Linked DNA regions of Homo sapiens: region 2 is linked to region 1. Evidence: promoter capture Hi-C in 16 types of primary human blood cells and fetal thymus (Javierre and others, 2016). All regions are on one chromosome and are shown on one strand. The core of a region is centred on a gene start or on the middle of the fragment in contact, and the rest is flanking DNA. Distances in the headings are between cores, read along the strand shown.

Region 1 (5,005 bases), core at 1,513-4,012:
TGGAGGATGAGAAGGCGGTCACAAAATGAAGGATGAAAGGTGATTCCAGGTAGGGATACACTGAATGAGAGGGTACAAAGGATGGTAAGATACTAGTTTTAGAAAGACAACTAAGGATAGACATTGGAGGTGGAGAGACAAGTTACAAGACTGGCAACAATTCAAGCAAAAGATGACAGGAGGCAGACATGAGGAGGGAGGAGGAAGGATATGAACAAAATCCAGGAGATAAATTTAGCAGAACTTGATGCCTGATTGTATTGAGGAAAGAAAGAACATGGAGGAGTTGCAGATGACTCTCAAAAACTTGGCAAATCAGTGGGTGGTGAGGCCATTACTGAAATAGGGAATACAGTGCAGAAGATAAGAGGCTGGGCGCGGTGGCTCATGCCTGTAATCCCAGCACTTCAGGAGGCTGAGGCAGGCGGATCACCTGAGGTCAGGAGTTCAAGACCAGACTGACCAACATGGTGAAACCCCATCTCTACTAAAAATACAAAAAATTGGCTGGGTGTGATGACACACGCCTGTAATCCCAGCTACTCGGGAGGCTGAGGCAGGAGAATCGCTTGAACCTGGGAGGCGGAGGTTGCAGTGAGCCAAAATCGCACCATTGCACTGCAGCCTGGGCGACAAAAGCGAAACTCTGTAACAACAACAACAACAACAACAAAAGAAGATAAGAGCCTGCTTGAGAAAGGAGGTGAAAGTTCATTCAGTTTGAAGCATTTTGAGTTGGCTTTGAAGCCTCTTCCATGAGACCTCCAACAATTTCTCTAAGCCAGAAATCACCTCTTTGCACTCCATAGTATCTTTTTCATCTCAAATTATTTAAATCTGCTGTATTTACAAGTTTGTCTTTCCTTTTTTTTTTTTTTTTTTTTTTTTTGAGACGGAGTTTTGCTCTTGTTGCCCAGGCTGGAGTACAATGGCACGATCTCAGCTCGCTGCAACCTCCGCCTCCCCTCCTGGGTTCAAGCGATTCTCCTGCCTCAGCCTCCCGAGTAGCTGGGATTACAGGCATGCGCCACCATGCCCGGCAAATTTTTGTATTTTTAGTAGAGACGGGGTTTCACCATGTTGGTCAGGCTGGTCTCGAACTCCTGACCACAGGTGATCTGCCCGCCTCGGCCTCCCAAAGTGCTGGGATTACAGGTGTGAGCCAACGTGCCCAGCCGTCTTTACTTTAAATCACAAAGAAAAGGTACTAGGTCTTATCTGTCTTTATATGGCTCTCTTAGCAGTGCCTTACACATAGAAAGTCCTCAGAGTTTGCACTCTTGAGAAGGCAGCTCCATCAGATACTAGAAACCGTCAGCTAACATTTATCAAAACAAGGAACAAAACTTGTGAATTAGCAGCTGAAACAAAATACCTGAAGTATAATATTTTTAATGTTAGTAGCTGATTCTAGATATAAATTAGCTCCCTTTGTGCTCATTTTACTTGCCTCTTTTTTTTTTTTCTTTGAGATTGCGTCTCACTCTGTTGCCCAGGCTGAAGTGCAGTGTTAAGATCATAGCTAGGGAGCCTCGAACTCCTGGGCTCAAGCGATCCTCTCACCTCTGCCTCCCAAGAAGCAGGTGCGCACCACCATGATAGGCTAATTTGTAAAACATTATTTTGTAGATACAGGGTCTTGCTGTGTTACCCAGGCTGGTCTGGAGTTCCTGGCCTCAAACAATACCCCTTTCTAGGCCTCCCAAAGTGCTGGGTTTACAGGCATGAGCCACCGTGCTGGCCTTTTCTGACTTTTAAACAACCCCGCAGCGTAATCTTTGCATTCCTATTTTACAGATAAAGCAACAGAAGCCTCCAGCGACTAAGTTAAACTTTCCTGGGGTCACAAGGTTTACAAGTGGCTGAATAGGATTTCTACAGACTGGTTCCTTCACCCGGCTGCCCGCCGAAGTAAGCGGGCCTTACTGCCCTAATTCTCAATAGGACCCCAAAGAGGACGCTTCTTTGCTCCTGAAGGGATGGCACCCTCTGGATTCGCGGTAACAGCAAATGGGGCTCTCACTCCTACCATCTCAGTGACAGTTTAAAGCGCACCCTACCGCAGGAAAGTGCCCATATTTGCACACACGCGGCAGAGGGCAGGGCTGAAAAGGGGCCCTAGGGTGCAGGGGGCGCGCCCTCACCCGGGGACCCCGCATTTTACAATATTAGCTCCACCGAGGCGCACGGAACCGCAGGCGAGCAACTGACCTTCGGCTCCAGCGGCCCCAAAGCCGGGGGTGGGAACGCGCGACCCAGGTAGCGGCATGGACTCCGAGCCTGGCCCCTCGGGGGTTAAAACTCCCCAGACATAAAGGCTCCGGACGACAGAGGTGCAGCCGCCGCGTGCCCGTGGGACACTGAAACTCTTCCCTTACCTTCCTCGGTAGTCCTGTGAGGGAGGCTGGCCCGGCCGGCTGCCCTACGGTGCGGACAGGAGGTCGCGGTCGGGAGGGGCCCTGCCCGGCGGTTGCTGCTGGAACCAGCCCCCGCAAGGGCCCGCAGCGGCCGGGCCGTTTACCTCAGACCCGCGCCGCAGCCTCCCGGAGCCCGCGCCCAGGACTCCCTCACGACCTCTCCAGGGTCCCGGCCCGACACCAAGGGGCAGGTGAGGGGTGGAACCTGGAGGCACCCGCGCCAGGGCCCCTGAGGGAGGCGGGAGGGGGACAGCCTCAGTCCTGACTCGCAGCCGAGGCGCGACGACTCCGCGCAGTCCCGCCTGTGGAGGGGCGTGCCTCATCGCTTGCTAACCGAGAGGCGAAGGGCAAGGGGCGAAGGGCAAGCGCCGGATCCTTTCGCCCCCTCCCCACGTGAGGCCCTGGAGGCTGATTGGCCGTGTGCTGCGGAGGCGGCAAGAGGAACGTGTCCTGGCACGTGCCGAAGGAGCGCTAAAGGCCAGGGGCGGTCCCACCCGCGAAGCCCTGGAAGGCGGATTGGCTGCGCGAGGAAGTGGCGTGTCCTCACTTGAGCTGTCTGGGAGCGAGAGTAAGAGATAAAGGCAAGGGCGCCTGACCGGGCCTGGGCACCTCCTCCCACTGCGGGCAAAGGGCAGGCAGTTCGTGCGCGGACACAAGCACTGGCGGACCGTGGCCATGGCGGGCGCTGAGTGGAAGTCGCTGGAGGAATGCTTGGAGAAGCACCTGCCGCTCCCCGACTTGCAGGAAGTGAAGCGCGTTCTCTATGGCAAGGAACTCAGGTCCGCAGCCAAGAGGCTAAGCTAATGGGGTCTTGGGGCCACAGAGTGTGGGTCTGGGGGAGCAGGCAGGGAGGGCCTCAGGGTCTGAAGGGCTCAGGGGAGGCGGTGAGAAGTCCTGAGTTGGCGGGCAGAGACCATAGTAGGTCTTGATGGGACGGCCCCGGGGTCCTTGGGGGTTGCAGAATCCTGGCGTGACCTTTACAAATCTCTTCTCCCCCACGTTGCCCAGAACCGGAAGGAAAAGGACGGGATTTTACTCTCCAGGGCTTTCTCTGTGGCCATCCCAACCCTCCTCCCCGGAGCCGGGCTTGTCTTCTGGATGTCTGGCTGGATCACTGTCTCCAACCAGAGCACCCAGCAGGTGTACTGATTGTCCGGCCCCAGACCATCCTTCTTGCGGTGACCCGACCTCTGGCTGACCCTTGGAAATAGAGGCTGTCTGCATTTAGTTGGCGAGGGAACCTTTCCCACTGGCAAGCCATGGGCGCTGGTTTTTCCACTCCCTGCAAGCTTGTGCATCACCAGGACTTTCTGAGGGCTGTATACTGCTGGACACTGTGTCCACAAAGCTGAAAAAGACACTTCCTGGCCGGGCTCACACCTGTAATCTCAGCACTTTGGGAGGCCAGGGCTGGAAGATTGCTTGAACTCAGGAGTTCGAGACCGGCCTGGGCAACATAGTGAGACACCCATCTCTATAAAGCATTTAAAAAAATAGCCAAGCATGGTAGCATGCATCTGTAGTCCTAGCTACATGGCAGGCTGAGGCGGGAGGATCACTTGAGCTTGGGAGGTCGAGGCTGCAGTGAGCCAAAATCTCTCCTCTGCACTCCAGCCTGGGAGTCAGAGTGAGGCCCTGTCTCAAACACACACACACACACACACACACACACACATACACACACACACACACACACACGTCTTTGGATTTGGAGCTTACTTGGATAATCCCGGATGATCTTATCTTGAGATCCTGACCTTAATTACGTCTGTGAAGACCCTTTTTCCAAATAAAATCACAATGACAGGTTCCAGGTGTCAGGATGGAGACACAGCTCAACCTGCTACAGTAGCTTCAGGGTCTGCAGGTGGAAATAACTCAGGGGCTATTTGCTATGTGGAGGTGGGCCTCAGGTGGGCGAGGCTGGGCTTGTTGAGCTGCCCTGGAGATGGTCATTCCAGGTGAAGGAGGAGCAGGTACAAAAGAGGGCGCTGGAGAGAATGCTGGAAAACCTGGATATTCAAGGGGTCAGAGAAAGAGACTTTGTGGGAGATTCTGGAGGTGAGGACTCTGGGGCAGGACAGGAAAGAAGCATCAGATGGCTCAGAAATGTCTAGCGGGTGAGGACAGCAGGAAGTCTGCTGGATTTAGCCATGATAAGGCTGTTGGCAGTTCCTGAGATGGGGCCAGGAGGTAAGGCCTGAGCTGAGGGGAAGCATGTGTGGAAGCTCCCTAGGCAGCAGGGAGAGACAGCAAGTGAGTAAACACATGGACATATGTGGAACACTGTCCCTCTTTCTCTTTCTTCCTCACCTTCTCTCCCCCCTATCTCCCTTCTGTTTTTCAACGGGAGAGACTCTTTAACAGCTTCAGTGATGGATGTGGAGGTCTGTAGGTACTAGTGGAGAAAGATGTCCAAGCTATGTGTATTAAGTGAAAAAGGCAAGTTGAAGAACAGAAAATACAGAATGATACCATTGTATTTGTAATGCATACACGTAGGAAAATAGGAAAGAGACATAAAACATTGTTAAGAGGGGTTGCCTCTGAGTTTTGGGACTAGGGGTGGGGTAGAAAGGGGAATGTAT
Region 2 (5,005 bases), core at 763-3,262, 290 kb before region 1:
CTTGCTGGAGATCCAAGAACCTTCTTTGGGGTCTGGATTGGGACCTCTTTCTGGTAATGCAAGAGGAATACGTAATTTACTCTTCCCCTACCTGCTCCTTTGTGCTTTCTTTCTCTCTCTCTCTCTCTCTCTCTCTCTCTCTCTATATATATATATATATATATATGGCTGTTTGTAAGAAAGAGCGCCCAACTGAAATCAGCCAGAAGCCCCTCTCAGGTTTATTCTCTAGAATAAACCTGTCTTTAACTGTTGAGCCACTTTTCATGTTTCCTTCCTCTTTCTTTAACTGTTATAGTCATTATCTGTAGATACTCGAGAAACTGTTAGAAATAGGTGAATTGAGCTATATATATAGAGAGAGAGAGAGAAAGAAGGAGAGAGAGAGAGGGAGAGAGAGAGAGAGACACTGGGTCTTGCTCTGTCACCCAGGGTGGAGTACAGTGGGGCAATCATGGCTCACAGTAGCCTGGACCTCCTGGGCTCAATCGATCCTTGTGCTTCAGCCTGCTGAGTAGCAGGGACTGCAGGCATGCACCACCATATCTGGCCAATTTTTGTATTTTTTTGTAGAGATGGGGTTTCACGATGTTCCTCAGGCTGGTCTTGAACTCCTGGGCTCAAGCAATCTTCTCACCTCACTCTTCTTTTTTAAATTTTGAAGCCCTCAAAGTCACCTTTGGGGAAAGGCACAGACCATAGGCTGCTTCTGTGATTCCATTTTTTTTCCCCTCCTGGGCATTGTCCTTAACCTTGGCAAAATAAACTCTTAAGTTGATTGAGACCTGTTTCAGATGCTTTTTGATTCACACTACTACAAGCGATTTTACTTCAAAAAAGGTTTTTTTGTTTATGGCTGGTACGTAGAAATAACATTGATTTTTGCATATATTCCTTGATTCCAATTGATGCGGCTTTGATGACTGGAGGAACACCAGGGTTTTGGTTTTGTACTGATAGGATTAATGACACCGACACATGTGGAATGGTTTTTTGTTTGTTTTTAGCTTTTTATTTTTTTGAGACGGAGTTTCACTCTTGTTGCCCAGGCTGGAGTGCGATGGCACCATCTCAGCTCACTGCAACCTCCGCCTCCCAGTTTCAAGCAGTTCTCTTGGCTCAGCCTCCTGAGTAGCTGGGATTACAGACATGTGCTGCCACACCTGGCTAATATGTGTATTTTTAGTACAGACGGGGTTTCACTATGTTGGTCAGGCTGGTGGAGTGGTTTTAAGGAGCAAAATGTTTAATAGGCAAGAAAGAAGGAAGAAGAAAACAGCTTCCCCTTACAGAGACAGAGCAGGGGGATTTGAATAAAGAGAAACCCCATGTGAGTCAGAAAAGTGGTTGCTTTTATTGGGATGCTGGAGGAGTTGGTGTTTGATCTGCATAAGGCCCAGGGGATTGGTTTGACCAGGTGTGTTATTTACCCAGCCAGTGAAAAACCTGGCCCTTTTACTTTAGTCCTTTAATATGCAAATGCAGATTGCAATGTTTTGAACACATGATGTTATCTGGAGGTGGCCATGACACTTGGGATACCTGGTGACAAGGAGATGATGGTGGGAATTGCCATATTGGGTGAACCCAGTTTTTAAAGGCCGACATTTGCATATTAAAGCTTGCTGGCCCCGCCCTTCGAGCTGCCTTTTTTGTTAGAAAAGAGATGGTTTGGGGGTTGTTTTTTATTACAGGAAAATTTTTACCGAGAACCTTTACCTTTATTATTTGTCTAAAAATTATTTTTAATAACTTCTGTATTACAATGACCTTGCTCAATTCACCTATTTCTTTATTTTATTTTATTTTTATTTATTTATTTATTTTTTTATTTTTTTTGAGACGGAGTCTGGCTGTGTCTCCCAGGCTGGAGTGCAGTGGCGCGATCTCGGCTCACTGCAAGCTCCGCCTCCTGGGTTAACACCATTCTCCTGCCTCAGCCTCCTGAGTAGCTGGGACTACAGGCGCCTGCCACCGCACCCGGCTAATTTTTTGTATTTTTAGTAGAGACGGAGTTTCACCGTGTTAGCCAGGATCGTCTCGATCTCCTGACCTTGTGATCCACCCGTCTCGGCCTCCCAAAGTGCTGGGATTACAGGCCTGAGCCACCGCGCCCGGCCCAATTCACCTATTTCTAACCGTTTCTTGAGTATCTACAGATAATGACTGTAAGAGTTAAAGAAAGAGGAAGGAAACATGAAAAGTGGCTCAACAGTCAAAGACAGGTTTATTCTCCAGAGGGGCTTCTGGCTGATTTCAGTCAGGGGCACTCTCTCTTACAAACAGTCATTTGTAGTTTTCTTTCTGTGAACAGTGAATCACATCCCTGTGCATATTTCTACTGGATACTTGGTCTTTAATACTAATAGTATTTATTGGTTTTTTAGGGTTAGAGGGCTTATCACAAGCTTGGAATGTTTCTGTGTGGGGGAGAAGTTTATGGGGGGGTTGGAATGTCTCTGGTCCCAGGGGAGGTTATCTTGGGGCTAATGTCTCTCTGGCCGGAGGGGAGGTTATCTCGGGGCTGGCATGTCTCTGGTCAGGGAGGGCTTTAGAATGTTTCTGGTTGGAGATGTTATTTGTGGTTTATGGTCATGCTGACCTTAGCCATTAGGCTGATGCCCTTTGGATTTAGGCAGTTTTTGATCAAGGTGAACTTTAAAATGATGGTGCTTGTCCAAGATGGCAATGCTCCTGCTCTGTCAATGACAGTCTTATGTCCTCCTTTCCAACCTTTATGGCTTTTGTTTTTCTCACCTTATTACATTGGCTAAAACTTCCCCTGTAATACTGGAAGGAAATAATGAAATAATTCTTAGCTTGGTTTCAATCTCAAAAGGGAGGCTTTTTATGTTGTACCTTTAAGCATGACATTTACTGTAGGTTTTTGTAGCCACGATTTATCAGATTAAGGAAGTTTCCTTTCATTCCTAGTTGCTGAGAGTTTTTATTGTAACTGAATGTTGGCAAATTTTATCAAATGCTTTTCTGCATCTACTGAGATGGTGAGTGACTTTTCTTCTTTATTCTGTGAGTGTGGTGAATTGTGTTGCTTGATTTTCTTTTTTCTTTTCTTTTTGTTTTGTGACAGGGTCAGGCCCTGTCATCCAGGCTCGGGGGCAGTGGTGTGATCATGGCTCACTATAGCTTTCCACCTCCCAGGCTCAAGTGATCCCCCAACCTCAGCCTCCCGAGTAGCTGGGACTACAGGCGCATGCCACCATGCCCAGCTAATTTTTGCATTTTCTGATAGAGACAGGGTTTTACCATGTTGGCTCGGCTGGTCTCGAACTTCTGGGCTCAAGCGATCCATAGGCTTCAGCCTCCTAAAGTGCTGGAATTACAGGTGTGAGGCTTCATTTTCTAATGTTCAGCCAATCTTGCATTCCTGGAACAAACCTAAATTGGTGGTGACGCATATTTTTTCCTTTCAAGCCCTGGTTTCTTCATGTTTTAAGGGCTATGCATCTCTGTTCATGAATCAAATAGCCCTAGACTTTTCCTTCTTGACATTTTTTTGGCCAGGTTTTGCTTTCAAGGTTATGCTAGCTTCTTCAAAGACGTTGAGCAACCTTTCCTCTTTTCTGTTCTCTGGAAGTTTGTGTAAGACTGGTATTTTTTCTTTCATCAGGGTTTCAAAGAATTCACTGAGGAAGTTCTGGGCTCGGAGTCACTTCCTCTGGCCCTGTGGGATCTCACTGTTGTTTGAATTGGCAATGTTTATTTATGAGTAGGCTTGAGAACTTTTTGTCTGTTGAAACAGCCATTTGTAGTTTTCTTTCTGCAAACAATGAGTCACATCCCTGTTCATATTTCTACTGGATACTTGGTCTCTAATATTAAATATTTAAGTATTTAAATATTTCAAAAACCAGCCCCACATCATGTATTGAAACTGTTTTTCTCCAGGTTTTTCACTGGTCTTTTGTTGTTGTTGTTGTTGTTGTTGATAATAGAGATGAGATCTTACTGTGTTGCTCAGGCTGGTCTCAAACTCCTGGGCTCAAGTGATCCACCTACCTGAGGCACCCAAAGTGCTGAGATCACAGGTGGGAACCATTGTGTTCAGCTTTATGTAAAAAAAAAAAAATTCTGAAAAGACCAGTGAAGGCTGGGCACAGTGGCTCACACCTGAGATCCCAGCACTTTGAAAGGCTTAGGTGGGTGGATTGCTTCAATCCAGGAGTTTGAGACCAGCCTGAGCAACATGGCAAAACCCCATCTCTATTTTTAAAATTATTTTTAAATCAAAAATTTTTGGCTGGGGGCGGTGGCTCACACCTGTAATCCCAACACTTTGTGGGGCTGAGGCAGGTGGATCACCTGAGGTCAGGAGTTCGAGACCAGCCTGACCAAGATGGTGAAACCCTGCCTCTACTAAAAATACAAAAATTAGCCGGATGTGGTGGTGGACGCCTGTAATCCCAACTACTTGGGAGGCTGAGGCAGGAGAATCGCTTGAACCCGGGAGGCGGAGATTCCAGTGAGCTGAGATTGTGCCACTGCACTCCAGCCTGAGCAACAGAGTGAGACTCCATCTCAAAAAAACTTTTAATATTTAAATAAAAATAAAAATTAAACTAAATTTAAATTTTTAATTTTTACATGTTCATATTTATTAGCTTTTTTCTTTTATGGCTTTTTGGTTTTATGACATGCCTAAAAAGGCCTGCCCCACTCTAAGAACATAAACAAAATTTGCCCATGTGTTCTTGTGATATTCATATGGTTTCATTTTGGTTTGTTTGTTTGTTTTGAGACAGAATCTTGCTCTGGAGTGCAGTGGCACAACCTCGACTCACTGCAACCTCCACCTCCCAGGTTCAAGTGATTCTCCCACCTCAGCCTCCCAAGCAGCTGGGATTACAGGCGCCCACCACCATGCCCAGCTAATTTTTACATTTGGAACGTTAGTACTTTAGTCTCCCCATCTATAAAACTGGTATAATCACAGCTCCCCTTCTGGAGAGAATTACATAAATTAACGCATGTAAAGGAATAGAAT

Evidence for each region. Contacts are between HindIII fragments. The CHiCAGO score rates a contact against its expected background, and 5 or more counts as called.
Region 2: a fragment that was not itself captured here is called in contact with the fragment with the promoter of ADORA2A-AS1 in region 1 in 1 of 17 cell types (monocytes); the score reaches 7.8 in monocytes.

Annotation. Positions count from the first base shown.
Region 1 is chr22:24,492,312-24,497,316 of GRCh38, forward strand. ADORA2A-AS1 (ADORA2A antisense RNA 1) reads right to left here and starts at 2,763. Exons shown (of 7, transcript NR_028484.3): 1 at 2,379-2,763. UPB1 (beta-ureidopropionase 1) reads left to right here and starts at 3,021. Exons shown (of 10, transcript NM_016327.3): 1 at 3,021-3,196. The coding sequence starts at 3,093. The HindIII fragment of the contact is 15,084 bases long and covers 1-3,704 here.
Region 2 is chr22:24,204,495-24,209,499 of GRCh38, forward strand. No RefSeq gene overlaps it. Among named protein-coding and RNA genes, the nearest start is that of SUSD2, 26 kb to the left of the region's middle. RefSeq lists an enhancer at 796-1,764. The HindIII fragment of the contact is 787 bases long and covers 1,620-2,406 here.